4 separate regions of the Homo sapiens genome follow, and all the other regions are linked to region 4. The links are contacts of gene promoters, found by promoter capture Hi-C in human tissues and cell types (Jung and others, 2019). All regions are on one chromosome and are shown on one strand. Each heading gives the region's core, a stretch centred on a gene start or on the middle of the fragment in contact. The rest is flanking DNA. Distances are from core to core; before and after follow the strand shown.

Evidence for each region. Contacts are between HindIII fragments. The study calls those that stand out against the background at their distance.
Region 1: a fragment that was not itself captured here is called in contact with the fragment with the promoter of CCDC97 in region 4 in 1 of the 25 tissues and cell types used here (dorsolateral prefrontal cortex).
Region 2: a contact is called between the fragment with the promoter of PRX here and the fragment with the promoter of CCDC97 in region 4, in 1 of the 25 tissues and cell types used here (small bowel).
Region 3: a contact is called between the fragment with the promoter of MIA here and the fragment with the promoter of CCDC97 in region 4, in 1 of the 25 tissues and cell types used here (dorsolateral prefrontal cortex).

Annotation. Positions count from the first base shown.
Region 1 is chr19:41,848,921-41,855,786 of GRCh38, reverse strand. DMRTC2 (DMRT like family C2) reads right to left here. Exons shown (of 9, transcript NM_001040283.3): 5 at 6,812-6,866; 6 at 6,531-6,657; 7 at 5,415-5,475; 8 at 5,087-5,261; 9 at 3,454-4,203. The coding sequence ends at 4,091. Among named protein-coding and RNA genes, the nearest start is that of DMRTC2, 7.3 kb to the right of the region's middle. The HindIII fragment of the contact is 8,258 bases long and covers 1-5,948 here.
Region 2 is chr19:40,411,764-40,417,835 of GRCh38, reverse strand. It overlaps PRX (periaxin), which reads left to right and starts at 4,458. Exons shown (of 7, transcript NM_181882.3): 1 at 4,458-4,498. RefSeq lists an enhancer at 3,000-3,648. The HindIII fragment of the contact is 14,641 bases long and covers 1-6,072 here.
Region 3 is chr19:40,770,164-40,776,829 of GRCh38, reverse strand. It overlaps MIA (MIA SH3 domain containing), which reads right to left and starts at 1,309. Exons shown (of 4, transcript NM_006533.4): 1 at 1,161-1,309; 2 at 945-1,078. The coding sequence starts at 1,287. MIA-RAB4B (MIA-RAB4B readthrough (NMD candidate)) reads right to left here and starts at 1,293. Exons shown (of 10, transcript NR_037775.1): 1 at 1,161-1,293; 2 at 945-1,078. The HindIII fragment of the contact is 14,863 bases long and covers 1-6,666 here.
Region 4 is chr19:41,307,550-41,313,834 of GRCh38, reverse strand. CCDC97 (coiled-coil domain containing 97) reads right to left here and starts at 3,663. Exons shown (of 5, transcript NM_052848.3): 1 at 3,479-3,663. The coding sequence starts at 3,524. It overlaps LOC105372401 (a long non-coding RNA gene), which reads left to right and starts at 3,786. Exons shown (of 2, transcript XR_935968.4): 1 at 3,786-3,897; 2 at 4,010-6,285. HNRNPUL1 (heterogeneous nuclear ribonucleoprotein U like 1) reads right to left here. Exons shown (of 15, transcript NM_007040.6): 15 at 6,048-6,285. RefSeq lists enhancers at 3,328-3,617, 4,891-5,070. The HindIII fragment of the contact is 30,341 bases long and covers 1-6,285 here.

The sequences.
Region 1 (6,866 bases), core at 570-3,069, 540 kb before region 4:
ATATATATGAGACAGTCTTGCTCTGTCACCCAGGCTGGAGTGCAGTGGTGTAATCATGGCTCACTGCAGCCTTGACCTCCTGGGCTCAAGCTATTCTCCCACCTCAGCCTCCTGAGTAGCTGGGACTACAGGTGCACGCCACCATGCCTGGCTAAATTTTGTATTTTTTGCAGAAAGGGGGTTTTGCCATGTTGCCCAGGCTGGTCCCGAACTCCTGAGCTCAAGCAATCCTCCCACCTTGGCCTCCCAAAGTTCCGAGATCAGAGGTGTGAGCCACTGTATCTGGCCCCTGAAGGTTTTTTTGCTGGGTACGGTGGCTCACAACTCTAATCCCAAAATAATAAGAAACAAAAATACACACATACAAACAAAACAACTCTAATCCCAGCACTTTGGGAGGCTGAGACAGGAGGATCGGTTGAGCTCAGACATTCAAGACCAGCCTGGGCAACATAGTGAGACACTGTCTCTACAAAAAATAAAAATTAGTCTCACATGGAGGTGTATGCCTGTAGTCCCAGCTACTCAGGAGGCTGAGGCTGGAGGGTCACTTGAGCCTGGGAGGTTGAGGCTGCCGTGAGCCATGACTGTGCCACTGTACTCCAGCTTGGGTGACAGAGGCTGTCTTAGAAAAAATGGTTTGAGGTCAGAAAGTTCACATTTTGATGAGGAGAGGGGCAGCATTGGAGTGTGTTAACTCAGTAGGAAAAAACAATTCCTAAGGAATCAGACAGAACGTATTTTACTCAGTCATTTATTCTGAGCTCCCAAGGAGGAGCTGCAGGCAAGTCCTGTGCTCTGAGAGTGCTTATTCTCTGAGGGGGAGACATAGATGGACATAGATAGGCACAGCTCAGGGTGATCAGGACTATGAAGTAGAGACCAGTGGCCCCTTGGGAACATAGGGAACTCTGCCTGAGAGGCTTAACATATTATTTTGAGTTGGATGAAAAGGATGAACTTTGGTTTTGTGAAGAGTTCAGGATCTTGTGAAGGCCCATGCAGGGTAGGGGTTATAGGACTGTATTTATGCAAACGTGTCAGGGCTGCAAAGCCAGCTACACAATGGAACAGGGGTGCAGAATGAGGCCTATGTGGACGAAGCAATGAGGGTCTGCGTATAGGCTGGATGGGATAAGTGTATGATGTCAGTTCTACGTTGGACGAGAATTGAGGTCAGGAGTGGAGCAAGTTAATGTAGGGCTGAAGCGAAAGGAGCATGGATTCCCAAAGGGCAGAATGTGAAATAAGCTCCTGAAATAAAACCTGGGTGACTGTGGGGAGGAGTCTTGTGAGGAGAGAGAGGAACAGGGACGGTGCTTCATAGTTGGGACCTCATTGGTTAAGTCTGCAGAGTGCCAAGAGGGTACACAAAGAAGGTTTAGAAGGGAGATGATTTACTCAGTACTTTATTGGACCATGGCAATACCTTTCCCTACCTGGCACTGGGAAGTGGGAAAGGGGGCAGTATAGGAAACAGTGCTCACAGTCTATTATCTGTAATCTCTCAGAGCCAAGAAGAGGCCAGGAGCCTACTGGCTCCCTACAACCACAGGTGAAGAGTGCTGCACCTGAACAGGCAACAACTTAGGAGCATGAGCAACTCTTAAATCTGCTCTTTTCCCTAAGACTGACATCTGCAGAAGCTCTGGCCCTTTCCCTCAGGCACTAATGGGGGGCCCTAACGATTTGAAAGACAAAGTTGGCCTGGCCAACTGGTGTGAAAAGCCTTGCCCAGGCTGGGTACTGAAGGCCGGGTACTGGAGGAGAGGTGAAGGAGAGGTGGCCTCTAGTCTACTCCTTCCCCCAATCTCCATCACTTCCTCTTTTCCTCCCCTTTTCATGCCATCCTTTAACCCCAAATTATACTTTCTCTTTTACCCTTCTCAGCTCTGTGACCTTGGTGTACAGAGGACCCTTGGTCAGTGCTGAGTAGCAGAATCTCAGCCATGTTGCATGTTGCAGTGCTTCCTTTCTCTGTGACTTTGTGGCCCTGGTCATCTGTCACTAGGAAAGCATGGCACACCAAGTCTTAGGCAGGTCTATTAAGGAGCAATCATATATCTAAGTTATAGCTAAGGGGAGGGAAGAAGGGTGTGAAGCCGACTTTGGTCTCCTGATATCTCAGTATCTCCTGAGAAGTGCTGCAGGTTTGTTACTCTGTACTCTGCTAGGGAGGAGAAGAAACCCACCCTCTCAAAATCCCAAATAAGAAATAACAAGTTGTAATTGGATGTCATCACCATCAATCATCTTGAGTAAAACAAGGGGTGTAGGTAACATCAGGAAAAAGAATCAGTGATCAAGCACATCCCTTGAGCCCCTTCTAAGGGTGGGAATGGGAAGGGGGTCTCCAGGCTTCATGTCTTTGGAATAGCTCAACAGGTTTTCCTATGTACGGAATGGTTCAAGGAGAAGGACTTGACACCAGAGGACTGAGAAACAAATGCAGGTAAGATCTTATTCTTAATGATATCTTGAGGAGAAAAATAAAAGACTTTTTTGAAAAACTCTTGACTTGTATGTATCTTCTGGAGTCCTGATTGGGGAAAGGAGTGGTGCATCTTTCATTCTATGCTTTTATTTATTTGTTTTTATAGAGACAGGGTCTCCCCGTGTTACTCAGGCTGGTCTCAAACTCCTGGGCTCAAGCGATCCTCCTGCCTTGGCCTCCCAAAGTGCTGGGATTACAGGTGTGAGCTATCACACCCGGCCCAATGCTTTATAAACATTATTAACTAATTTGGAGCCTGGCAAAGAGAAGGAACCCTCCTCTGATCTCTGCCTAGAAATTTCCCCTAAAACACTTGGGCAAGTTACTTTACCTCTTTAAGCTTGTTTCTTCACTTGTAAAATGGGAACCATCCTGCATAACTTCCAGGGTTGCTGTGAAGATATGTGAATCAAATGGAGTGGGCACTCAATAAATGGTAATAAATGTTTCTTAACCTTTTATGGATCCTTCGAAACTCAGACACGTGAACCTCCCTAGTTGAGGAAAAACTTGTGATAAAGACTAACTCGATTCTTTCTATTCTGGTTAGCCTCAATTTCCCCATCTGGAAAATGTATCAAATTGGTATTCCACTGGCCAAAGCTAGCCTGAAAATATGTTTTATTTGGCACGTATAGAATTTAAAGAAGAAAACTGAGCCAACATTTGAAAATTAAGATGTTTTACATGGAAATCTAGTTTTCCAGTTTCTCTTAAAAAATCAGAAGATGGAGCAACACTGAGTCCACATTCCCGCCTGGCAGTAATCTGCTAGGGCCAAAAGGAGGCTGCTCCTTAGGCAAGGCATCCATTCTCAGTTTGCCAGGGTCCATCTGGCCTTCTTTACTCATTTATTTGATCTGCTCAGCCCTGTAGGCATTTCGATTTGTAGCCCCTCTAGACAGCTGGAAACTGTCTATGCCTGGCACAGAGCGGGCAATTAATCAGTGAATCCCCCATTATTTCTTTACATCATTTTTTTTTATTTGGACAAAGAAAAAAATCCAAGTTTGTTTTCATCTATGGTAGCTATTGGATAACAGATTTTTCACTTTGAGAAGCGAAATGAACAAGTCCTTTCTGTCAGTCAGGATAGACTAGGTTAGGCTGTGGTAACACTCTCCAAATCTCAGTGGCTTACAACAACAAAGGTTTATTTCTTGCTTACTCACACAAACCTAGACACAAAATGAAAACACTCTCCTGTTTTCACATGCATGGAGACAGACATGAATGCATAGGCATTTACAGAATCATGGAATCCTGGGATGTAAACTCATGCAAACACGTTTATAGATACTGGTCAGCTTAAATAGCACAACTCTCTCTTTATTGGGGATTTCAAGAGATCCCAGGACCCAAGAAGGGTACAAGAATATCCACTGTCAGCCAAGGAAATGCCCACACTACCAAAGGAACTGAAAGCTAATGAAGCACCTGAAAGCTTAAACAAACAAACAAACAAACAAACAAAAAAGCCCGAAGCTTGTACTACATTAAATTCCATGCATAAATCCTTAAGTAAGACACTAAATATACAGTGCCAGCAGGCTGTCACCTCCCTGCCATAGCAAGACAGCCTCCATCTCTGGGTTTCTAGCTCAGGAGGGAGATGGACCCCAGACGGCCAATATGCAGAGCAACAGAGGGGGCTGGGCTGGGTCGAAGACAGGGGCCAACAGGCTGGAATCCTCTTCCTCCAGCAGGAGCTACAGGCAAGAAGGAAGGGGCAGGATCAGGTCACACCTGTTTTTCCTTCTAGCAACCCCCTCTTTTTACCGAATCCAATCCAGGCCTCATCATTGTTCTCCTGGATTATTTCACAGACCTCCTTGCTAATTTTCCCACCTCCAGTCTTGCCTCCTCCAAACCGTCCATCAAAGCCACCCACTTGTCTTTCTAAAGCTCAGGGTCTCTGAATTTGTCCTTGCTTAGTTCAGAAACGTTCCCTGGCTCCCCTTCACATACAGTTGCTGTTCTAGACACCTAAGCCTGGCATGCCAGATCTCCACCATCAGAAGCCTCTCCAGCCTCCTTTCCCTCTGTTCTAGCATTTCCTCCAGGCCAGTCTGCCCAATCCACTATTTGGACAAGAGAATTCGCAGCTTTCCCTGTCTGTCCCCCTAGGTGTTTCTCACTCTTCAAGGTTCCTCCAATCTTCTTCAGGTTTGTCACTGAGCCTTGTGAAGGCATCCAATTTCCCTAACTAGAACGTAAGCTCCTTGAAGGCACTTATCAGACCTCCTCCCAGGCCAGACCCCACTTCAGACTTCAGCAGGCAGCCTGGGTCCAGAGACAGAGCATTGGGTTCCCTGCCACTGTCTCACTATATGCCCTTGGGCAAGTCCCTGCCTTTCTCAGTGCCCCACTTTCCTTGATATCAAGAAATTTGCTGTCGAGTGCCAAACTGATAAAAAGGATTCACTGAATAACTCTCAACTGCAATCCCAGGGGCCAGGCTGAGGAGCTTGGGGTCCTGGGCCTGAAGACGTTCAACCTGTCGACCCCCTCATCTCCTTGGTTAGTCCCTGTGTACTTCAGTGATCTCCATTTCCCAGCCATCCCTATCCATCCTCTCCTTTCATGGCCCACCTGGTGGGCCACAGGGGTGAAGCAGGGAGATCCAGGCAGGGTTGGGGGGCACAGAAGGGGTCACACGAGGAGCCTGGGATGAATCTTTCAGCCCCACGAGGGCTTCAGCTGCCTCTTGCTGCAGCTGCCACTCTGAGGGGCCAGATGTCCGGGCCAGGCACGAGGCTCCAGAGGCCTGCAAGGGAAAGGGAGACAAGCAGACTGGGAACCCCCGCTTCTGCCCACCCTCTAAGTGTTCCTCAGCCCCTGCTTCCTTCAGTTTCCTGCTTTTTCCTTCCCCAGGCTCAACCTCCTCCCAGGGCCCTAGATCCCACTTCTTTCCCAGGACCTGTGGCTGTAGCTGAAGAGGGTCTGGGGTGCCACAGGGCTGGAGTATCAGAGTTGAGTGTCTAGAAACAAGGAGAGAAGATGCCAGGGTGGTTAAACAGATGAACAGACATGCACACATTGAAAGAGGGGCAGGATTTTGCCATGTTTTGATCTGGGAATCTGAGAGCCTGCTGGGCCATTAAGCTGTGTCTTGACTTATTTTGTTTTCAGTAAAGTAAAAATCCTTGCCAGTTTTTCCTCCCAGGGCTACTGTGAGGATTATGGGAAATCACTAGTGTCTTTTTTTTTTTTGAGACAGGCTCTTGCTCTGTCACCTAGGCTGGAGTGCAGTGGCGGTGTGATCATGGCTCACCATAAGCTTGAACTCCTGGGCCTACACCATCTTCCCACCTCAGCCTCCTAAGTAGCCAGGAAAACAGGTGTGCACCACCATTCCTGGCTGTTTTAATTTTTTTGTAGAGACGAAGTCTCGCTCAGTTACTCAGGTGGTCTCAAACTCTTGGCCTCAAGTAATCCTCCCACCTCAGCCTCCCAAAGTGTTGGGATTACAGGTGTGAGCCACCAGGCCCCACCTGATGCCGGTTTTTAAAAAAACACCTAGAAGACTGAGATTACTGTCCCTGACCTATCAGAGTCTGGGTCCCATTCCCCCAGTTCCCCAGTCACCATAGAACTTGAAGGAGAGCTTGGCTCACCTTTGGGAAGCTTTTCCTAATGGCCTCTGGCCCCTCTCCTGGGTCTCTGAGGCTCTCATCATCTCTGCCCCCCATATCAGCAGGCAATCTTACCCCATCAAATCTGTCTAAGCAGATATAACAGCTACCATTAAAGAGTCTGTGCTAGGTCTATTCCATACATTATTGCTAATTCTTACAACAATCAGAGAGGTAAGTAATAGTGTCTCCAATTTACTGATAGAAAAACAGGCTCAGAGAGGTAAAGATAATTGTCCAAAGCATCACAGCTAGGAAATGGCAGTACTAGGAGAGCTCTGCCTTGCCTATTAGTCAGAGACCTTTTCATCTTCATTATCCACTGTGGTTGGACACCAGCACTGTGGTTGGACACAGCACAGGCTTAGGCTTATGATACACATCCTTCTCTCCCTACTCACGTGCGGGGCTGGCTAGGGGGCCCTTGGGGCTCTCCAGAAAGAGGAGCTGTCAGTACTGGGTGAGATCCTGGGCAGGTGGTGAAGGGCCCATGAGTGGGCAGCTGGAGGGAGGTGCCAGGGTCAAAGCCTAATAAGAATAAAAGAATGCAGAGTGTATAGGGGCCAAGGTCATAGTTTCTTTCCTCCCTCTCCCCACCTATGCTTTCTTCCTCTTCCCTCTCCAATATGTGGCAGATTGGCACTCAAATATATGTTGAATGAATGTTGAATTATCATCTTACCAGGGAAGGGAGGCAGAGAGACAGCAGGTTCTTGGTACAGCAGGCGGCACACCAC
Region 2 (6,072 bases), core at 3,209-5,708, 900 kb after region 4:
AGGTGACACTGGAGGCCAGGAGCCCAGGATCCCAGGGGTGGAGAATCTGGGGAGGGACGGAGCAGCTGTTGGGAGGGAAGAGGCACTCAGGAGGCCCAGCAGACAGGCTGTGGGACTGACAAGGCCTGGAGGAGGGGTCTCAGACCAGGCTCAGGGCTCTAATCAGGGGACTGGGAGACACTGGGGCCATCCCTGAGATGGCAACTGGGGAGAGAAGCAAGTCTGGGGTTGGGGCTGAGGCCAAGGAGGGACCCAGGGGGTGCAAGAGGCTGGGGAGACACCCAGGGGAAGGCATGGAGCTGCCCGGGCCCTGGGCCGGGAGCTCAGGAGAGAGGACTGGGGTGTGGGGGTGGGCGTGAACGGTGGGATCGAGGGAGACACCAGTGTCCCTTGGCTGGACTGGGTGGGGCGGAGTGGCTAGGCCACGCAGGGCAGGCCAAGGCTCCTGCTTGGCTCAGACTGAGTCTGGAGAGGGTGGTCCCTGAGAAGAAGCGTCCACCTCCTTCCCTAGCCTCACAGGATGTCCTGTGTTTACTGCGGTGGCCACAGCCGGAACCAGGACACTGGGGCCACCCCCAACTTAGCTTCCCGTGGCCACACCCCCTTGGGTGAGGGAAAGCATGACAGAGAGAGAGGGAGAGAGAAACGCACAGACAGAATGAGACAGAAAGAAACTAGGAAAGAGAGACAAAGAATAAGGACAGAGAGAAACAGAAGAACAGAGAGACACAAAGATAGAGACACACAGAGAGACACACCATTCGTGATAAGAATTCACAACAGTCCAGGTGTGGTGACTCATGCCTGTAACCGCAACAGTTTGAGAGGCCAAGGCGGGTGGATTACCTGAGGTCAGGAGTTCAAGACCAGCCTGGCCAACATGGCGAAACCCCCATCTCTGCTAAAAATACAAAATTATTGCTTCTTGGCCTTTTGGCTAAGATCAAGTGTAAAATACAAAAATTAGCTGGGTGTGGTGGTAGGCGCCTGTAATCCCAGCTACTCGGGAGGCTGAGGCAGGAGAATCTCTTGAACCCAGGGGGCGAAGGTTGCAGTGAGCCGAGATTGTGCCACTTTGCTCCAGCCTGGGTGAAAGAGCGAAAACTCTGCCTAAAAAAAAAAAAACAAAAGAAAAATTAAAAAAAAGAAAGAAAATAACTCACAGCAGGCCAGGCACAGTGGCTCATGCCTGTAATGTCAGCACTTTGGGAGGCCAAGGCAGGAGGATCGCTTGAGGCCAGGAGTTTGAGGCCAGCCTGGGCAACATAGTGAGACCCGCATCTCTCAAAAACAAGAAAACAAAAAACTCACAGCAAACTAGGGAAAGAAGCTTCCTTAACCTGATAAAGCGTATCTACAAAACATGGACCGCTAACTTCCTACTTTATGGCAAAAGGTTAAATGCTTTCCCCTAAGACTGAGAACAAGCAAAGATCTCTGCTCTCTGCGACAAGGGAAGAGAGGGGATGTTGTGTACCAGCCTCCCTTTTCTGTTTGACCCTGAGCAGAGAGAGGGGGATTTTCTTCCCTATGCTAGCCTGGCTGATAGCTCAGCCTCTTTCTGCCTTCAGGTACCTAAAAGCTCAGTGCTATTCATACTTTGTCCCTCTGATAGCTCTTCAGGGCCCACAGGACAAAGTCTGAGGCCCTCCTCATGGCCCTGCTGACCCCTGGACCTCCTCTTACCTTTCCCTCACACTCTCACCTTAACCGTTTTCTCAAAGGGCCTTTGCACAGGGTGTTCCCGCTACCTGAAACACACTGTCATTCCTTCACCACCCATGGCTTTGGGTTAACTTCTATATATCCTCCAGGTGCAAGCTCAAATGCCACTTCCTCCAGGAAGCCCTCCTTGATTTCTCTTCCTAGGCTGGGGCAGCCACCTTTTCTGGACTTCCCCATCAAGGCTTTGACCTCTCTGCCTATGATTGCCCCATCACAACCCTCCTCTTTCTGGGTTTGTTCCCTGCTGGACTGTGAATGGTGTGGATGCAGGCCTGAGCTGTCCCAGTCACACTGTGTCCCCAGCACCATCCAGCCTGGGACTGGACAGAAGACCAGGTGCTCACTGAATGTTTGCTGATGGTGAATGAAGACCCGCTCCATTTCTCACCTCTGGTCCTTTGCCCACATTTGTCCCTCTGCCTGGAACCCCCTTCCCTCCTTTTTTCCTTAGCTCCCTCCTCCTCAATCTTCCATTTTGACTTCCTTTTATTATTTATTATTATTTTCTTTTTGAGACAGAGTCTCGCTCTGTCACCCAGGCTGGAGTGCAATGGCGCAATCTTGCCTCACTGTAACCTCTGCCTCCTGGGTTTAAGCAATTCTCCTGCTCAGCCTCCCGAGTAGCTGGGATCACAGGTGCCCGCCACCACGCCTGGCTAATTCAGTTTGACTGCCGATATCACCTCCTGCAGGATCCTTTCCTGAGTTTGCCGCCTCCTCCCTGGGGTGGAGTTAGATCTGTTGATGTCCCCTGTGCCCAGCAAAAGACCTACCACTAAACAGGGCTTGTGAGTGTTTGTTGAATGAATATAGGAACAAAAGAATGTTTGCGTGAATCAATGAAGGAGAGAGACTGCAATGAAGTGAGGGTCTCCTCAGGCCCATCGGGAGCCCCGACCATACCATCCCTTCTACCCCTCCTGGGAGGAGGGCTCTGGCTGGCTTCTGGCCACACCCCAATGCTTGGTTGCTGCCAGGCCTGGAAGGCATTTCCCAGAGCTCAGCACATTCCTGCCTTCCCCGGTGGCTGAGAGTGGGCAGGGGGCATTTCAGAGAGAAGGGAGGGAGGCCCCCAGCATTCCGGGATCCTGCCATCCTGGCCTGGTCCCCCACGCCCTCTGAAGTAGGCCCCAACCCTCTGGTGTGAGATGGGGGACAGGTCTGCAGAGGGGCCACCCAGGCTGGTGTGAGGGGCGAGGGTGCCGACAGAGGCCAGGGCTTGGTGTCTGTGCCTGGCTGGACAATGGGGCAGAAGCTGCTGACATGCGCTTTGGGGGTAATCCCCCAGCCTCAGCCCAGCCCAGGCCTGGGGCCTGGGTTCAGAGAGCGACGAGCTTCCGAGGCAGCAGCCGGGTGGGTTCAAGTGGCATGTGGGGGTACCTGTGCTCCCTGTGCCGCCCCCCGGGGTCTGGTGAGTCAGGGCAGGCTGGGGGCTGGACCAGGGTCCAGGGGTTGGGGGTGAGGCCTGGTAGCTTTGGCTTGGGAGTCGGGCAGGTCTGGGTTCAACTCTGGACCCCTGCCAATGACCTGCTATGGTGATATTGGGAGAGTCACTTACCTTCTCTGAGCCTTCTGGTCTGCAAAGTGGAAGGGGCAGAAGAGTGTAGCAGGGTTTTTGTGGTCCAGGAGAACAGGGGTTGGACCTCAGCTTCACCACCTCCTGGCCACATAGCTATAAATTGGGCATAGCTGGACGCGGTGGCTCACGCCTGTAATCCCAGAACTTTGGGAGGCCGAAGTGGGAAGATCGCTTGAGCCCAGGAGTTCGAGACCAGCCTGGGCAACATGGTGAAACTTTGCCATTACAAAAAATACAAAAATTAGCTGGGCATGATGATGCATACCTGTGGTCCCAGCTATTTGAGGGGGCTCAGTCGGGAGGATTGCTTGAGCCCAGGAGGTGGAGGCTGCAGTGAGCCATGATCACACCACTGCACTCCAGCCTGGGCAACAGAGTGAGACCTTGTCTCAAAAAAAAGGGTGGGGAGCATAAGGAGCCCATTTTACACCCTTGATTCAAAAGCAGGGCTTCAGCACTGAGCATGGTACTTAGTATGTGATAGGTGTCCCCCTAAACAGTAACTCCATTAGACAGAGAACTGGGGGTCCCCTGTGCCCAGCCTTACTGAAAAGGGGCCAAAACCCCCCAGCAAGATGAGCCAGCCACCTAATTTGTGTGAAAAATAATACCAAATACTTATTAGTAACCCTCATTATGTGCCCGGCATTGTCTTACATTTTCAGTCTCTTTTAACTCGTTTAATCTTCACCACAGCCCCATAAGGTGGGTACTCTTACTATCCGCAAAGAGAAGCTGTGACTGGCAGCAGGTCACCCAGCGAGGAAGTGGTCGCGCTGCGATTTGAACCCAAGTTGACAGGGAGAGGGAGTGAAAGGAGTTTACAGTAGAGGCAGTTGGCCAGGCCCGGGTCCTGGAGCCAGGAAACAGTGGGGCTGGGGTGGGGTCCTGATTCTCCAAGTCGAGGAAGCCAACGTGCAAATCCTTGAAGCTGAGCTCATGGCAGAGATCTCGGCCCAGGCAAGAGAGAGGCGGCTGGTGGCTGTCCCGTGGCCCCCACCCCTTGGGGATAGATGTAGCTGGAGGAGGGGGATGTTTGTTTCTCCACCACCCACCCTCTGGTGACGTCACACCCCCGCAGCCAATGGCTGGGGTCTCTCTCTCCTCCCCCCTCCCCATTCCTTTTCCCCCCCAGCCTAGGGCTAGGGCTGACAGACGGGACCAGGAGCTCTCGAGGTGTCTGGAGGCTCAGCGGTAAGAGATCAGCCGGCCGGTCCCTTCCCTGGCCAGGCTGAGACACTGTGGGAATGAGGTTCAGGGTCCCGGGAGGTGCTGGGAGGGGGCCTGGGGGCTCAGGAAGCCGTGTGGTGTAGGTGTTAAAGGTATAGACTTTGGAGCTGGTGGTTCAAATCCCCTTTCCTCTCCTTTCTGGCTGTGCAGCCTTGGGCAAGATACTTCATCCTTTGTGCCTCTGTTTCCCCATCTCTAAAATGGGCTGATGTCTGGAGGCCACCTCACAGGGCTGGTGCCGAGTAAATGAGTTGCTGCTTTTAAAGAGCTAGGGCAGCCAGGCATGGTGGCTCATGCCTATAATCCCAGCACTTTGGGAGGCTGAGGCGGCAGGACTGCTTAAGCCCAGGAGTTCGAGACCAGCCTGGGCCACATAGAGAGGCCCCCATCTCTACAAAACAAAAAAAAATTTTTTTTAATTAGCTGGGCATGGTGGTGCATGCCTGTGGTTCCAGCTACTCTGGAGGCTGAGATGGGAGATTGGGTTGGGCCCAGGAGGTTGGGGCTGCAGTGAGCCGTGATCACACCTCTGCACTCCAGTCTCAGTGACAGAGGGAGACCCTGTCTCCAAAAAACAAACTAACAAACACCAGAGCTGGGGCAGGAGGCCTGGGGTGGGTCCCTGGAGTAGGGTGCTAGGGAGGCAGCATGGATCCTGTTGGGAGGCTGGTGCCTGAGCTGGGTTTTGTCTCTCAGCCAAAGCTCCCCTTTGGTAGCAGAGAAAGTGGGGGCCACTGAGGAGCAAAGGTTGGATGTGCAACACTGTGAGAAGCACAGCTCCCTCCCTCCATACTCTCCCTGTTGCTGTCAGAGACGAGTTTATATTAATCAAGCATTTACTATACAGGAGGGATATTCTAAGCACCTGCTGTTCTCTCACAAATCTTCAAAGCCTTTCTTATTGGCTCCATTTTACAGATGGAGAAACTGAGGCCCCAGAGATGAAGGATCTTGCCCAAGTCCTCACACCTGGGAAGTGCTGGAGCAGGGACTAACCGAGGCAGCCAGAGGCCACTGCCTTAACTCCCCCTGACCCCCTAGGTGGCCTCAGATAATGTTTAGAGGTCTGGATGAGTCAGCCCAACCCCTGACCCCCATTGCTATGAGAGATCACGCTGGTGGCGGGGGAAAGCTGAGGCTCTGAGCAGGCAGGGTTCCCAAGTGAAGTTGGTGGCAGTCACCAGGGAAAGAGGGCCAGAAGGGCAATGCCCTCAGCCGATCCCTCAGCAGCCTCCGAATGACAACCCCTCGCTCCCAGCTGCTCTGAAGGGCATAAGTCGCATCTGAAATGGATATCTCAGTTGTACCCACTCCAGGGAGATGTTACAAAGATTTAAGGAGCCAAGACAGGAAGGATCTTAGCACACAGTAGGTGCTCAAGAAATGGGGACCCTGGGGATTCTGAAAGTTCTGGCATATGCCAGGGTCATGCCACAGTAACTACCCAAGAAATAGGCTGCTGGCATCTGGAGTGTCTGCCTGGTCCCAGTGGATCTGCCTCTAACACAAGGCAGGGACCCTCCCCAGGAGCCTCCCCA
Region 3 (6,666 bases), core at 60-2,559, 530 kb after region 4:
TGTTCAGAGGCCCTTTCTGAACACCCAAGTAAGTCTCTGTTAATTCTCACAGCAGCGCATATTTGCTTTTATTATTATTATTATTTTGGAAACAGGGTCTCATTGTGTCGCCCAGGTTGAGGTGCAGTAGCATGATCACGGCTCACTGCAGCCTCAACTTCTGGGATCAAGCAATCCTCCCACCTCAGCCTCCCGAGTAGCCGGGACCACAGACACATGCCATGAAGCCCAGTTAATTTTAAATTTTTTTTTATAGAGATGGGGGTCTTGCTATGTTGCCCAGGCTGGTCTCGAACTCCTGGGCTCAAGCTATCCTCCCAACTTGGCCTTACTTGGGATTACAGGTGTGAGCTACTGTGCCCGGCTGCTGCTATTTTTTATGCCTTGCTTTTTGTTCATTTCCCTCCATTAGAATAAAAAGGATCATTTGTTGTTGTATCTTGGTGTCTAGAACAGAACGTGGGACCATATCAGGTCCTAAAATTGGTAAATAAAGTGAAAATAGGCTGGGGGGCAGTGGCTCACACCTGTAATCCCAGCACTCCGGGAGGCCAAGGCGGGCAGATCATGAGGTCAGGAGTTCAAGACCAGCCTGGCCAATATGGTAAAACCCTGTCTCTACTAAAAATACAAAAATTAGCCAGGTGTGGTGGTGCATGCCTGTAATCCCAGGTACTTGGGAGGCTGAGGCAGGAGAATCGCTTAAACCCAAGAGGTGGAGGTTACAGTGAGCCGAGATCGTGCCATTGCACTCCAGCCTGGGTGACAGAGCAAGACTCTGTCTCGGAAAAAATTAAAAAATAATAAGCAAATAAAATAAAGTAAGTAACAATATCCCCCCACAATGTCTATTTCAGTTCACCCCCCTCAAATCTTCCCTTCATGGGGATAATGAGTCTACCCCAGCTCTGTACCCTTCCCTCTTTCACTCTCCCAAGACTCACGCTGCCTCCCCAGAAGAGCCGCCCACGGCCCTTCAGCTTGGAGAAGACATACACCACTTGGCCCCGGTGAATGGTCAGGAATCGGCAGTCGGGGGCCATGTAGTCCTGAAGGGCCACAGCCATGGAGATAGGGTCTAGGGAAGGAATAGAAGGGAATGCAGCACCCTCCACACAGGCTAACGCCCAAGCCCCCAATTCTCCCCTCCCCATTCTTACGGCTGCACTCCTGGTCCGCACACAGCTTCCGGTCAGCCAGCTTGGGCATAGGACCACCCCTGACACCAGGTCCGGAGAAGGCAGACAGCAAGATGATGACACCAAGGCACACCAGGGACCGGGCCATCGTGGACTGTGAGCAAGAGAGTGAGCAAGGGGGTGCTGGGGTCTCCAATTTCCTCCCCTCCCTCTCTCCCGTAGTACAAGGAAACTTGTGTTCTTGGTCTTGTCCCCGCCCTAAACCAGTCCCAAACTTCGCCCACACCACCTAGAAGTTGCTATGAAACCAGAACCATTTCAAGGATAGGGTAAAGGCTGTAAGCCCAAGGAAATTCCCAGATAAGGTCCAAAGCAGCTCACAACTTTCCCAGTGACAGCCCCCTCCTCAACAATCACAGAGGCCTAGATAAGGTGGTTGAAATATTCAATTCCATCTTCTCTTGAGTTGGCTTAGGTACCTGGGCTCCTCCGCTGTCCCCTCTGGCCACAGAAGCGGAGGAGCCTGTAAAGAAAACCACCTTGGAATTTCCTGTGCTGTGGGGCAGGAGAACAAGGCAGCCCTTTGATTACCAGAAACAGCCCAGCCCTTGAGTACTGACTGAATATTGTATGCTGAACCTTAGGCTAGGCAAAGTCCCACCATGATCACTATTCCTCTGCACCAGACGCTTCCCACTGGATGACCTGGGCTAAGCTATTTCTCCTCACAAAGCCTCAGCTTCCTTATATGTAAAATGGGAACAATAAAAAAGCCAATAGTTACAGAGCATTCACCAAGTACATATTTATGTTATGAACTCAAATGGATACTCTGTATCATGTCAGGAGGAGTGATTATAACCCCTCCCTTTTTTTTCTTTTTTGAGACAGGGTCTCACCCTGTTGCCCAGGTGGAGTGCAATGGTGCCATCCCGGCTCACTGCAGCCTCAACCTCCTAGACTCAGGCAATCCTCCCACCTCAGCCTCCTGAGTAACTGGGACTACAGGCACAAGCCACCTATGCCCAATTAATCCATTTTTTTAAATAATTATTTTGAGGTAGAGTCTTGCTCTGTTGCCCAGGTTGGAGTGCACTGGCATGATCCTGGTTCACTGTAGCCCCTATTTCCTGGGCTCAAGCATTCCTCCCACCTCAGCCTACCGAGTAGCTGGGACCACAGACATGTACCATTATGCCCAGTTAATTTTTTGTATTTTTTGGTAGAGCCGGGGTTTCGTCATGTTGCCCAGCCTCGTCTCAAACTCCTGGGCTCAAGCAATCTGCCCACCATGGCCTTCCAAAGTGCTGGGATTACAGGCATGAGCCACCAAGCCCAGCCTAATTTAATTTTTTGAGACAGGATCTTGCTGTTGCTCAGGCTGAAGTACAGTGATGTGATCATAGCTCACTGCATCCTCAAACTCCTGGGCTCAAGAAATCCTCCCCTCTCAGCCTCTCGAGTAGAATAGTAGGCAAGTCACCATTCTTGGATGATTTCTTTTATTTTTATTTTTCTAGAGCCAATGTCTTACTGTGCTGCCTGGGCTGGTCTTGAACTCTTGTCCCCAAGTATCCTCCCGCCTTGGCCTCCCAAAGCACTGGGATTACAGGCATGAGCCACCAATGCCTGGCCTATAACCCCTTGTTACATGGAAATGGAAGTGTGGAGTTAAGGAACTTGTCTAAGGCTTACAGAGCCAGGAAGTGGAGAAGTGGAGAGGCTAAGACTTGTATCCAGGCCCACAGCCATTGCTATGCTATCTTTTTTTTTTTTTCTTTTTTTTCTTTGAGATGGAGTCTCATATTGCAGTGGTACAATCTCAGCTCACTGCAACCTCCACCTCCCGAGTTCAAGCAATTCTCCTGCCTCAGCCTCCCGAGTAGCTGGGATTACAGGCATGTGCCACCATGCCCGGCTATTTTTGTATTTTTAGTAGAGACAGGGTTTGTCCATGTTGGCCAGGCTGGTCTCGAACTCCCCACCTCAGGTGATCCACCCGCCTCGGCGTTCCAAAGTGCTGGGATTATAGGAGTGAGTCACCGCGTCTGGCCTGAAAGATTTTTTTTTTTTTACAGGCAGGGTCTCACTCTGTCACCCAGACTAGAGTGCAGTGCCACAATCACAGCTCACTCAGCCTTGAACAACTGGGCTCAAGCTATTCTCCCACCGCAGCCTCCTAAGTAGCTGTGACTATAAGTGTGAGCCACTGCACCTGGCTTTGAAATGCAATTTCTTTTTTTTTTTTTTTTTTTTTGAGACATTGTTTCGCTCTTGTCACCCAAGCTGGAGTGCAATGGCACGATCTTAGCTCACTGTGACCTCCCCCTCCCGGGTTCAAGTGATTCTCCTGCCTCAGCCTCCCAAGTAGCGGGGATTACAGGCATCTGCCACCATGCCCAGCTAATTTTGTATTTTTAGTAGAGATGGGGTTTCACCATGTTGGTCAGGCTGGTGTCAAACTCCTGACCTCAAGTGACCCACCCACCTTGGCCTCCAAAAGTGTGGGGATTACAGGTGTGAGCCACCGCACCCGGCCCCACTTTAAAACACTCTTTAAAAAATTATTTCTTCATTCAGGCCAGACATGGTGGCTCACTCTTGTAATCCCAGCACTTTGGGAGGCTGAGGCAGGCGGATCACTTGAGGTCAGGAGTTTTGAGACCAGCCTGGCCAACGTGGTGAAAATACAAAAATTAGACAGGCATGGTGGCACACACCTGTAGTCCCAGCTACTTGGGAGGCCGAACCAGAATCACTTGAAACTGGGAGGTGGAGGCTGCAGTGAGCCAAGATCACGCCACTGCACTCCAGCCTGAACGAGAGAGTGAGACCCTGTCTCAAAAAAAAAAAAAAAAAAATCCGCCGGATGCAGTGGCTCACACCTGTAATCCCAGCACTTTGGGAGGCTGAGGTGGGTGGATCACCTGAGGTCAGGAGTTCAAGACCAGCCTGGCCAATATGGTGAAACCCTGTCACTACTGAAAAATACAAAAATGAGCCAGGCATGGTGGCGCATGCCTGTAGTCCCAGCTACTCAGGAGGCTGAGGCAGAAGAATTGCTTGAACCTGGGAGGTGGAGGTTGCAATGAGCCAAGATCATGCCACTGCACTCCAGCCTGGGTGACAGAGTGAGACTCTGTCTCAAAAAAAAAAAAAATCATTTCTTCATTCATTGAAGATTTCATGAGTACATAAAGTATCCTAGGACTTAATCCAGACCCTGGAGATTCATCAAGGAATGAAAATTAAAGGGGAGATAATCAATGAACAAAGTTCAGATATATGATAGTGTGTGAAGTATTAAGGATACTCAGAAAGAACACTCAAGAATCAGCTGTGGGAACCGTGCCCCCTGCCCCATATTACTGATGAAGCCACAAAGAAATAGAAGTGACTTCAATTCCCAAAGCACAGTGCATGTATCTCCTGCTGCATAATTAGCCTAAGACCAACATTGCCCCAGTGCAGTGGCTCATGCCTGTAATCCCAACACTTTGGGAGGCTGAGACAGGAGGATTGCTAGAGCCTAAGAATTTGAGACCAGCCTAAGTAACACAGGGAGACCCTTGTACCTACAAAAAGAAGAAAAAAAGAGAAAAACTAGCTGTGCATGGTGGTACAAACCTGTAGTCCCAGCCACTCAGGAGGTTGAGGTGGGAGGACCACTTGAACCCAGGATGTAGAGGCCGCAGTGAGCCATGATCGTGCCACTGCACTCTAGAGCAAGAACCTGTTTAGAAAAAAAAAGACCAAAATTATCACCTTTTCTGTGGGTCGAATGTCTCAGGCTTAAGGTCTGCTATAAGGCTGCAATCAGCCTGTCAGCCAGGGGTGCAGTTTCATCTGAAGGCTGAATGGTGGGAGGACTGCTTCCAAACTCATTCAGGCAGCTGTTGGGGAGATGCAGTTGCTTGTGGGAACTGGACTGAGGGCCTCTGTCCTCAGTTTTCTTGACACGTGGACCTCTACAGACAGCTTGAGAGGTGAAGATGGCTGGGCCTCTGGGCCGGTGAGGACTTGGAGAACTTTTCTGTCTACCTAAAGGATTGTAAATGCACCAATCAGCACTCTGTGTCTAGCTAAAGGTTTGTAAACACACCAATCAGTGCTCTGTGTCTAGCTAATCAGGTAGGGGACTTGGAGAACTTTTCTGTCTAGCTAAAGGATTGTAAATGCACCAATCAGCGCTCTGTGTCTAGCTAAAGGATTGTAAGCACGCCAATCAGCGCTCTGTGTCTAGGTAAAGATTTGTAAACGCACCAATCAGCTCTCTGTAAAAACGGACCAATCAGACTCTGTAAAACAGACCAATCAGCACTCTGTAAAATGGACCAATCAGCTATCTGTAAAATGGATCAATCAGCAGGATGTGGGTGGGACCAAATAAGGAAATAAAAGCAGGCCACCCTAGCCAGCAGCTGCAACTGGCTCAGGGCGCCTTCCATGCTGTGGAAGCCTTGTTCTTTTGCTCTTTGCAATAAATTTTGCTGTTGCACATTCTATAGGTCCACATTATCTTTATGAGCTGTAACACTCACCGCGAAGGTCTGTGGCTTCACTCCTGAACTCAGCATAGACTACAAACCCACCAGAAGGAAGAAATTCCAGATACATCTGAACATCTGAAGGAACAAACTCCAGGCACACCATCTTTAAGAACTGTGACACTCACTGCGAGGGTGCATGGCTTCATTCTTGAAGTCAGCGACGCCAAGAACCCACCAGAAGGAACCAATTCCAGACACAAGCTCACAACGTGGCAGCTGGATTTCCCAACAGCAAGACAGAGGCCAGTCTTTGTACCCACCCTTTGTACTCTTCCTCCATATTGCAGCCACAGGAGCAGGGCCACTGAGAAGCACAATTTTTTTTTTTAATTTTTTAAAATTTTGAGACAGAATCTCACTCTGTCGCCCAGGCTGGAGTGCAGTGGCATGATCTCGGCTTACTGCAACCTCCGCCTCCCGGGTTCAAGCAATTCTGCTTCAGCCTCCAAGTAGCTGAGACTACAGGCACGTGCCACCATGCCTGGCTAATTTTTGTATATTTAGTAGCGACGGGTTTCACCATATTCACCACGCTGGTGTCGATCTCCTGACCTCAAGTGATCTGCCCACCTCAGCCTCCCAAAGTGCTGGGATTACAGAGGTGAGCCACCGTGCCCGGCCTCTTTTTTTTCATCTCTCACCTCCAAAGTGTGCTTCGGAGATCCACAGGCTAAGCGTCCTTCTCCAGAGGGTCCACGTTGCTCCCAGGGACCCTCACCTCTAGACTGGCAAGTCCAAGCTTTTTTTAGAAGAGGATGGACACACACAGGCTTGGGGCCAGGGAAGAGTTTGTCAGGGATGAAGACTAGGTCTGTGCCATGTCTACAAACCCAACACCAAGCACCATGAGCTCAGCTCAAATGCACCTTCTCAGAAGGGTTTTCTGGACCACTCATTACTGTTCCCAACCCCATCACCCGCTTCACATCAGGATTTTTTTTTTTTTTTTGGAGTCTTGCTCTGTCACCCAGGCTGGA
Region 4 (6,285 bases), core at 2,414-4,913:
CCTGCTACTCAGGAAGCAGAGGCACAAGAATCGCTTGAACCCATGAGGCAGAGGTTGCAGTGAGCCGAGATCAGCCATTGCACTCCAGCCTGGGTGACAGAGTGAAGACTCTGTCTCAAAAAAATGGAAAGAAAACAGGAAAGCGGAGCGCTGGGCAAACCTTGGTGAGACTTGTTTCCCAAGAGTGGAGGGAGCAAGCCTGCGGCAAGCAGGAAATACGTGAAAACAGAATATAGAGACAACTTTAAGCAGCGTGGCTGGGTTGGGGAGGAAAGAAGTCACAGGTGACATACATGTGTTGTGTGTATCAGGGAGGATTTAAATCACTGATGCAGCTGAAGACTGAGCTGGACAAGGGCAGGGGCTGTGGAGGAAGGAACAGGATCATGAGTGAGCGAATCAGAAAGATGTCAGGAGGCTGAGTGGAGGAGCCACAGGGCTGACGTGCTGGAAGTAAGGGAGGCATCCAGGGGAATGGTCCGACTGCTGCTACACGGGCCTCCAGACTCCTCAGGAGAGAAATGTTGGGCTGGAGACAGAGCTGTGGGTGTCATCAGAATCAAGACAAGAACCAAAGCCAAGAGAAATGAGAGGTAGGGACTGGGGAGGGCACAGGGGAGTGGGAGAGGGATGACAAGAGGGTCCAGGAAAAAGCACTGCACAGATGCGGGGAGGACATGCCTCTGAAGCTAAAAACTGGCTGTGCAAAAGATAGCTACATCGTAATCCCTGGAGCCCATTACTGTTATCTTAAAAAAAAAGAGGCCGGTTGCAATGGCTCACCCCTGTAATCCCAGCACTTTGGGAGGCCAAGGTGAGAGAATCACTTCAGGTCAGGAGCTCAAGACCAGCTTGGCCAACATGGCGCTCTACCAAAAATACAAAAAATTAGCCAGGTGTGGTGGCGCACTCCTGTAGTCCCAGGTACTCAGGAGGCTGAGGTAGGAGAATTGTTTGAACTCCGGAGGCAGAGGTTGCAGTGAACCGAGATCACGTACTCCAGCCTGGTCAACAGAGCGAGACTCCGTCTTAAAAAAAAAGAAGGCAACGTCAAAAGGGGAAGCAGAGATTGGAGTGATGTAGCCACATGCCAAGGAATTCCAGAAACCACCACTGGCTGGAAGAGGCAAGAAATGGGTTTTCTCCCAGAGCCTGTGGGGAAGCACGACCCTGCAGACACCTGGATTTCAGTTCAGCAACACTGACTTCAGCCTTCTGGCCTTGAGAACTATGAGAGAATAAAGTTCTGTTGTTTGAAGCCATGCAGTTTGTAGTACTTTGTTACAGCACCCCTGGGAAACAAAGTCAGGCTGAGAAGGAGCAGCCTGAGAGACAGGCAGGAAATCAGGCACTGTGGTGTCGCTGAAGCCAAAGGAAAACATGCAAAAAGGATGGAAGGATCAACAGCATTTAATTCTAGTCCAGTCTAGTAAGAAAAAAAACCTGAATGGGCCAAGTGTGGTGGCTCACACCTGTAATCCCAGCACTATGGGAGGCTGAGGCAGGAGGATCTCTTGAGGTCAGAAGTTCGAGGCCAGCCTGGCCAACATGGTGAAACCCCATCTCTACTAAAAATATACAAAATTAGACAGGCATAGTGGCGGGCACCTGTGATCCCAGCTACTTGGGAGGCTGAGGCACGGGAATCACTTGAACCTGGGAGGTGGAGGTTGCAGTGAGCTGAGATCATGCCACTGCACTCCAGCCTGGGCAACAGAGTGAGACTCTCTCAAAAAACAAACAAACAAACAAAAACCTGAATGGGGGGACTGAATTGAACAACATGGGGGAAGTCAGTGCAGACCCTAATCAGAGCAGTTTCTTAGGAGAAAAGTCAGACAGTCGTGAGCAGGAGACGAGGAAATGAAGACCAAGTATACATGACTCTCTGAAGGAGACAGATGGGGCCAAGAGACAAATTTTTTTTCTTTTTTTTGAAACAGGGTCTTGCTCTGTTGCTCAGACTGCAATGCAATAGTGCAAACACAGCTCACTGCAGCTTTGACCTCCTGGGCTCAAGTGATCCTCCCGCCTCAGACTCCTGAGTAGCCGGGACCACAGGAATGCACCATCAAACCTGGCTAATTTTTTTTTTTTTGAGACAGAGTTTTGCTCTGTTACCCAGACTGGAGTACAGTGGTGCGATCTCTGCTCACTGCAACCTCCGCCTCCCGGGTTCAAGTGATTCCAGTTGGTGCCTCAGCCTCCCGAGTAGCTGGGATTACAGGCACATACCACGACGCCTGGCTAATATTTGTATTTTTAGTAGAGATGGGGTTTCGCTATGTTGGCTAGGCTGGTCTCCAACTCCTGACCTGAGGTGATCTTCCTGCCTCCGCCTTCCAAAGTGCTGCGATTACAGGTGTAAGCCACCGGGCCCGGCCTTAATTTTTAAATTTTTTGTAGAGATGGGGTCTGGCTATGTTGCCAGTGCTGGTCTCAAACTCCTGGGCTCAAGTCTCACTCTGCTGCAGAGGCTGGAGTGCAGTGGTGTAATAATCTTAGGTCACTGCAATCTCAAAGGATTCGAGTGACACTCCCACCTTAGTCTCCTGAGTAGCTTGTCCTAGCTACTCCCTAGCCACCAGGCCTGGCTAATTTTTAAATGTTTATAGAGATCAGGTTTCTCTCTCTTGCCCAGGCTGGTCTCAAACTCTTGGGCTCAAGCAACTCTCCTGCCTTGGCCTCCCAAAGTGTTGGGATTACAAGCGGGAGCCACTGCACCCGGCCTTAAGACTTTTTTTAGGTTAAATTTTTTATTTTTAGAAAATTTCAAACATACACAAAAGTAGAAAGTACAACGACAATTCTCCCCCTACCTCCATATACCAATCATCTCCATCTGGCTTCCACAATTACCAATTCTTGGCCAGTGGTGTTGGAGCCACGCTTCCAATCACACCTCACCCGACGTCGGATTACTTTGAAGGTTGTGGGAAAGCACAGAAATTGAGTAAGGACTTTGAAAGGAGCCTGGCTGGATTTCGGACTTTGGGGGAAACGGGAGTTACAATGAAATGAAGGAATCGTTAGATTGGGATAAGTTTGCATGAGGCAGGTAGAAGTTTAGCCTGGAAAGGTAGGAGGATTCGTCTAGAGAGCAAGGGAAGGCTCAGCTTGGTACAGGGAAGGAGGTAATTTGAGAAGGGCTGGTCTGAGGCAATGCAGGAATTAGGCCGGGGTAGAGAGGTTTCTGTTAATTTGAGAGTTAGCCTGGTAAGGAAATGAATTAGGGACATGGAAAGGATTGGTCTGGAACTGGGAAGAGGTTAATTTCGGGGGGAAGGAATGGAGGAAAAGAAGGTCAGCCCGCGACAAGGGAGGGAATAATCTGGGCAAAGTAGTGAAGAGGACCGGTAAAGCTGAGGGGGGTGGGTGTCCCCCTAAAACGAGTCCTACTTCGCGTTCCTGGGGGAATCATTTCCTAGAGACACCGCAACCGCACCCACCCGCCGCCTGCGCGTGACCAAGATCTCACCCTTATCGGGTTCCTTCGCCGCCGTCGCCGTCGCCACGGCCTCCATCCTGATTCTCTCGGACTTTTCAACCGCCCGGCGGGCCCCGCACACTAACCTCCGGCCCACGCACGCAAGAGACACTTTCGCCTGAGAATGTTCCGGGTCCGGGTGCACCGCTGCGCCCAGGCACCGAAGTTCCGGGCCTAAGGCAGACGTTGCATTGCGCATGCGTGCCTCTCTCGGGCTCCGCCCTCCGCAGCCAGGAAGGAAAGGGGCTCCCCGGAGAGTGAGAGACCCTTAAACCTCTCCTGTCAGTCAGTAGGAACCAGAATCATTGTTCGTTTTATCACTGCTGTGACTCCAGCTCCCAGCGTGCTTAATTTTGGGATGGATGGCTAAAGGACTTTCCCCCGGAGCCTGGAGCCGTCATACGCTGAGGGTTCGTGCTCTCGTTTAGACCCCCGCTTGTCCTTTTCCTTTCTTAACTCCTTCAGGAATTCAGGAATATTACTAAGCCTTGACTCTTTTTTTTTTTTTTTTTTTTGAGACAGGGTCTCGCTTTGTCGCCTAGACGAATGCAGTGGCGCGATCACAGTTCAAGTAACCTCACATTCCTGTGCTCAAGTGATCCTCCTGCCTCAGCCTTTGGAGTACTTGGGACTACAGGCGCGCACAACCGCGCCCGGCTAATTTTTAAAATTTTTTTGTAGAGCCAGGGGTCCCACTTTGTTGCCCAGGCTAGTCCCCAACTCCTGGCCTCAAGCAATCCTCCCGCTTCAGCCTCTCAAAATGCTGGGATTACGCGCGTGAGCCACCAGCCTGGCTTACTTCCGTCATCATACCCTGTCTCTGGCTGGCATGAGATGGATAGTGAGATAGAACTTCCCATTTTGTGTTCCCAGGACCTGGAGGAAATCTACAGGTGTGAAACAAGACAACTCTGGTCCTTATTTCCCTATGGGATGGGTGGGGCTCTATTTAGGTGTTACCAGCAGAGTAGACAGACATGTCACTCAGTGGCCAGGGCTTTGATGGATCCAGAGGGCTGAGGGAGCTGTCCACCCCAGGCTGGAGGGTCAAGGAAGCCTTCTTTCTGGGAGGGTACCCTCAAGCTAAGACCTGAAGAACGAGTAGGAGCTGGGTTAAGAGGAAGGTAGGGAAGAGTCTTGAGGAGGATGGCACGTACGGACGGTTCTGGTTGCTGCAAGCACTTCACTACGGTCAGGGCATAGGAAAGGAGCTCTAACTTGAAAGCCATGATTGGGCTGTGGAGGTTTTGAGAACCTCATGAATTTTTATGCAAAATTCCATGTACCTCTGTATTCTCCAATGCAGTGGTTCATGGCATCATTTGTGGGTTCCAAAAAGGACTTATGGCTCCTCAGAACAAAATAAACACTGATTTGATATTCAAAGGGGGAGCAGAAAGAGAGGGCGCCAGCGATGTTACCAGGTGCTAGGCCATGCAGGGCCTCATAAGCCATAGTAAGTGGCTTGACCTCCTTTATTCTGAAGGGAGTGGGCATCAAGGGACTGGAGATGAGACGTGTGAGAAAAACTGGCTGAGAACAGAGGAAGAGCTTCCCCATTTGCATTCCCTTGAGGTCTGGAGTTGTGGAAGAAAGCCAAGGAGGTCCCTATTTACCAACCCAGATTCCTAGGCATTACCAGGAGAGGCCAGCAGAGGGCGCTGTAGCCCAGCATATGGACATGAAGGGAAGGGGACTTTCCAGACTAAAGGCCCTGCCACCTCCTCTCTGGCGCATTCTAGGGTCCCTTTTAGCCACCAACCTTGGTTCCTTCTCACGTTCTGATGCCCTACCCGAGATTCTGAGACTAGTCAGTTTCCCTCCCTTGTTTTTGTTGCCCATCTCCCCTTCACAAGGCTCTGAGCTCCCACCAGGGAAGATTGGGGCTGAATTGGCTTCTCCTGTGGCCCAGCATTGTCTCTCACAAGGAGCCAGGAACACAGCATGTATGAGGGAACGAAGACATAAGGTTGCTAAGGAAGGGGAAGATGGGCCATGGGGATGCAATCTGGAGTCTTTTACCCTGGCTCACTCCTCCAGGAAGCCCTCCCTGCACACCACCCCAGGCTCTCACAGCTGACCACTTGGTGCTGGCAGGTCTTTGTTCTCTCTGGAGTGGGAGCTCTGTGAGAACGGGGTCCAGGACTGCCGTGGCCATACTATGTCCCCAGCACTGTCCAGGACAGCTGAAGAACACAGCAGGTGGCTCACACACACTGGCTGAAACATGAAGCTCCTGGAATCCCCATGAGCCCCAAACACAGAACAGGCAGGAACTGTCCTCCGTGCTGCACACAGGCCAGGCCTGAGGCAGGTGGTCTGTGGATGCCCAGTGATGATGCCAAACAAACCAGCCCTGGTCTCTGCCCCATCAGTCCCACCCATCCCTCCACCTAGAGGCCTGTTCCATGTCCTTTACTCAAAAACTCCTGGAGGGATTTTAGACTGTGAGAGGTAGAGAACAAGAGAAGCACTTTAAAAATGAACTAGTGGATTTTAAACCAGGGACCCTTGTTTAAGCGTGCATTTTTAGCACCAAAATCGGGGCCAGGCACATGAATCCCTCAGTTAAGTTGTTTAATGAATGAGTAAATAATTTCCCTTTAAAGAGGCCCCCACCCCAATTAACGGCCAACTGCAGTAACACTTCAGGGTTTCAACCCTGCTTCCTTCCTGCTAGGAGGTGCCATGTCATTTATTCAAAGAAAACAAAACGAAACCAAACAAAACAGGGCAAACACATTTCTTAATAAGTGCAGTTTGTTAAAATCATGTTAAAACATATGAGTCAAGGGGAA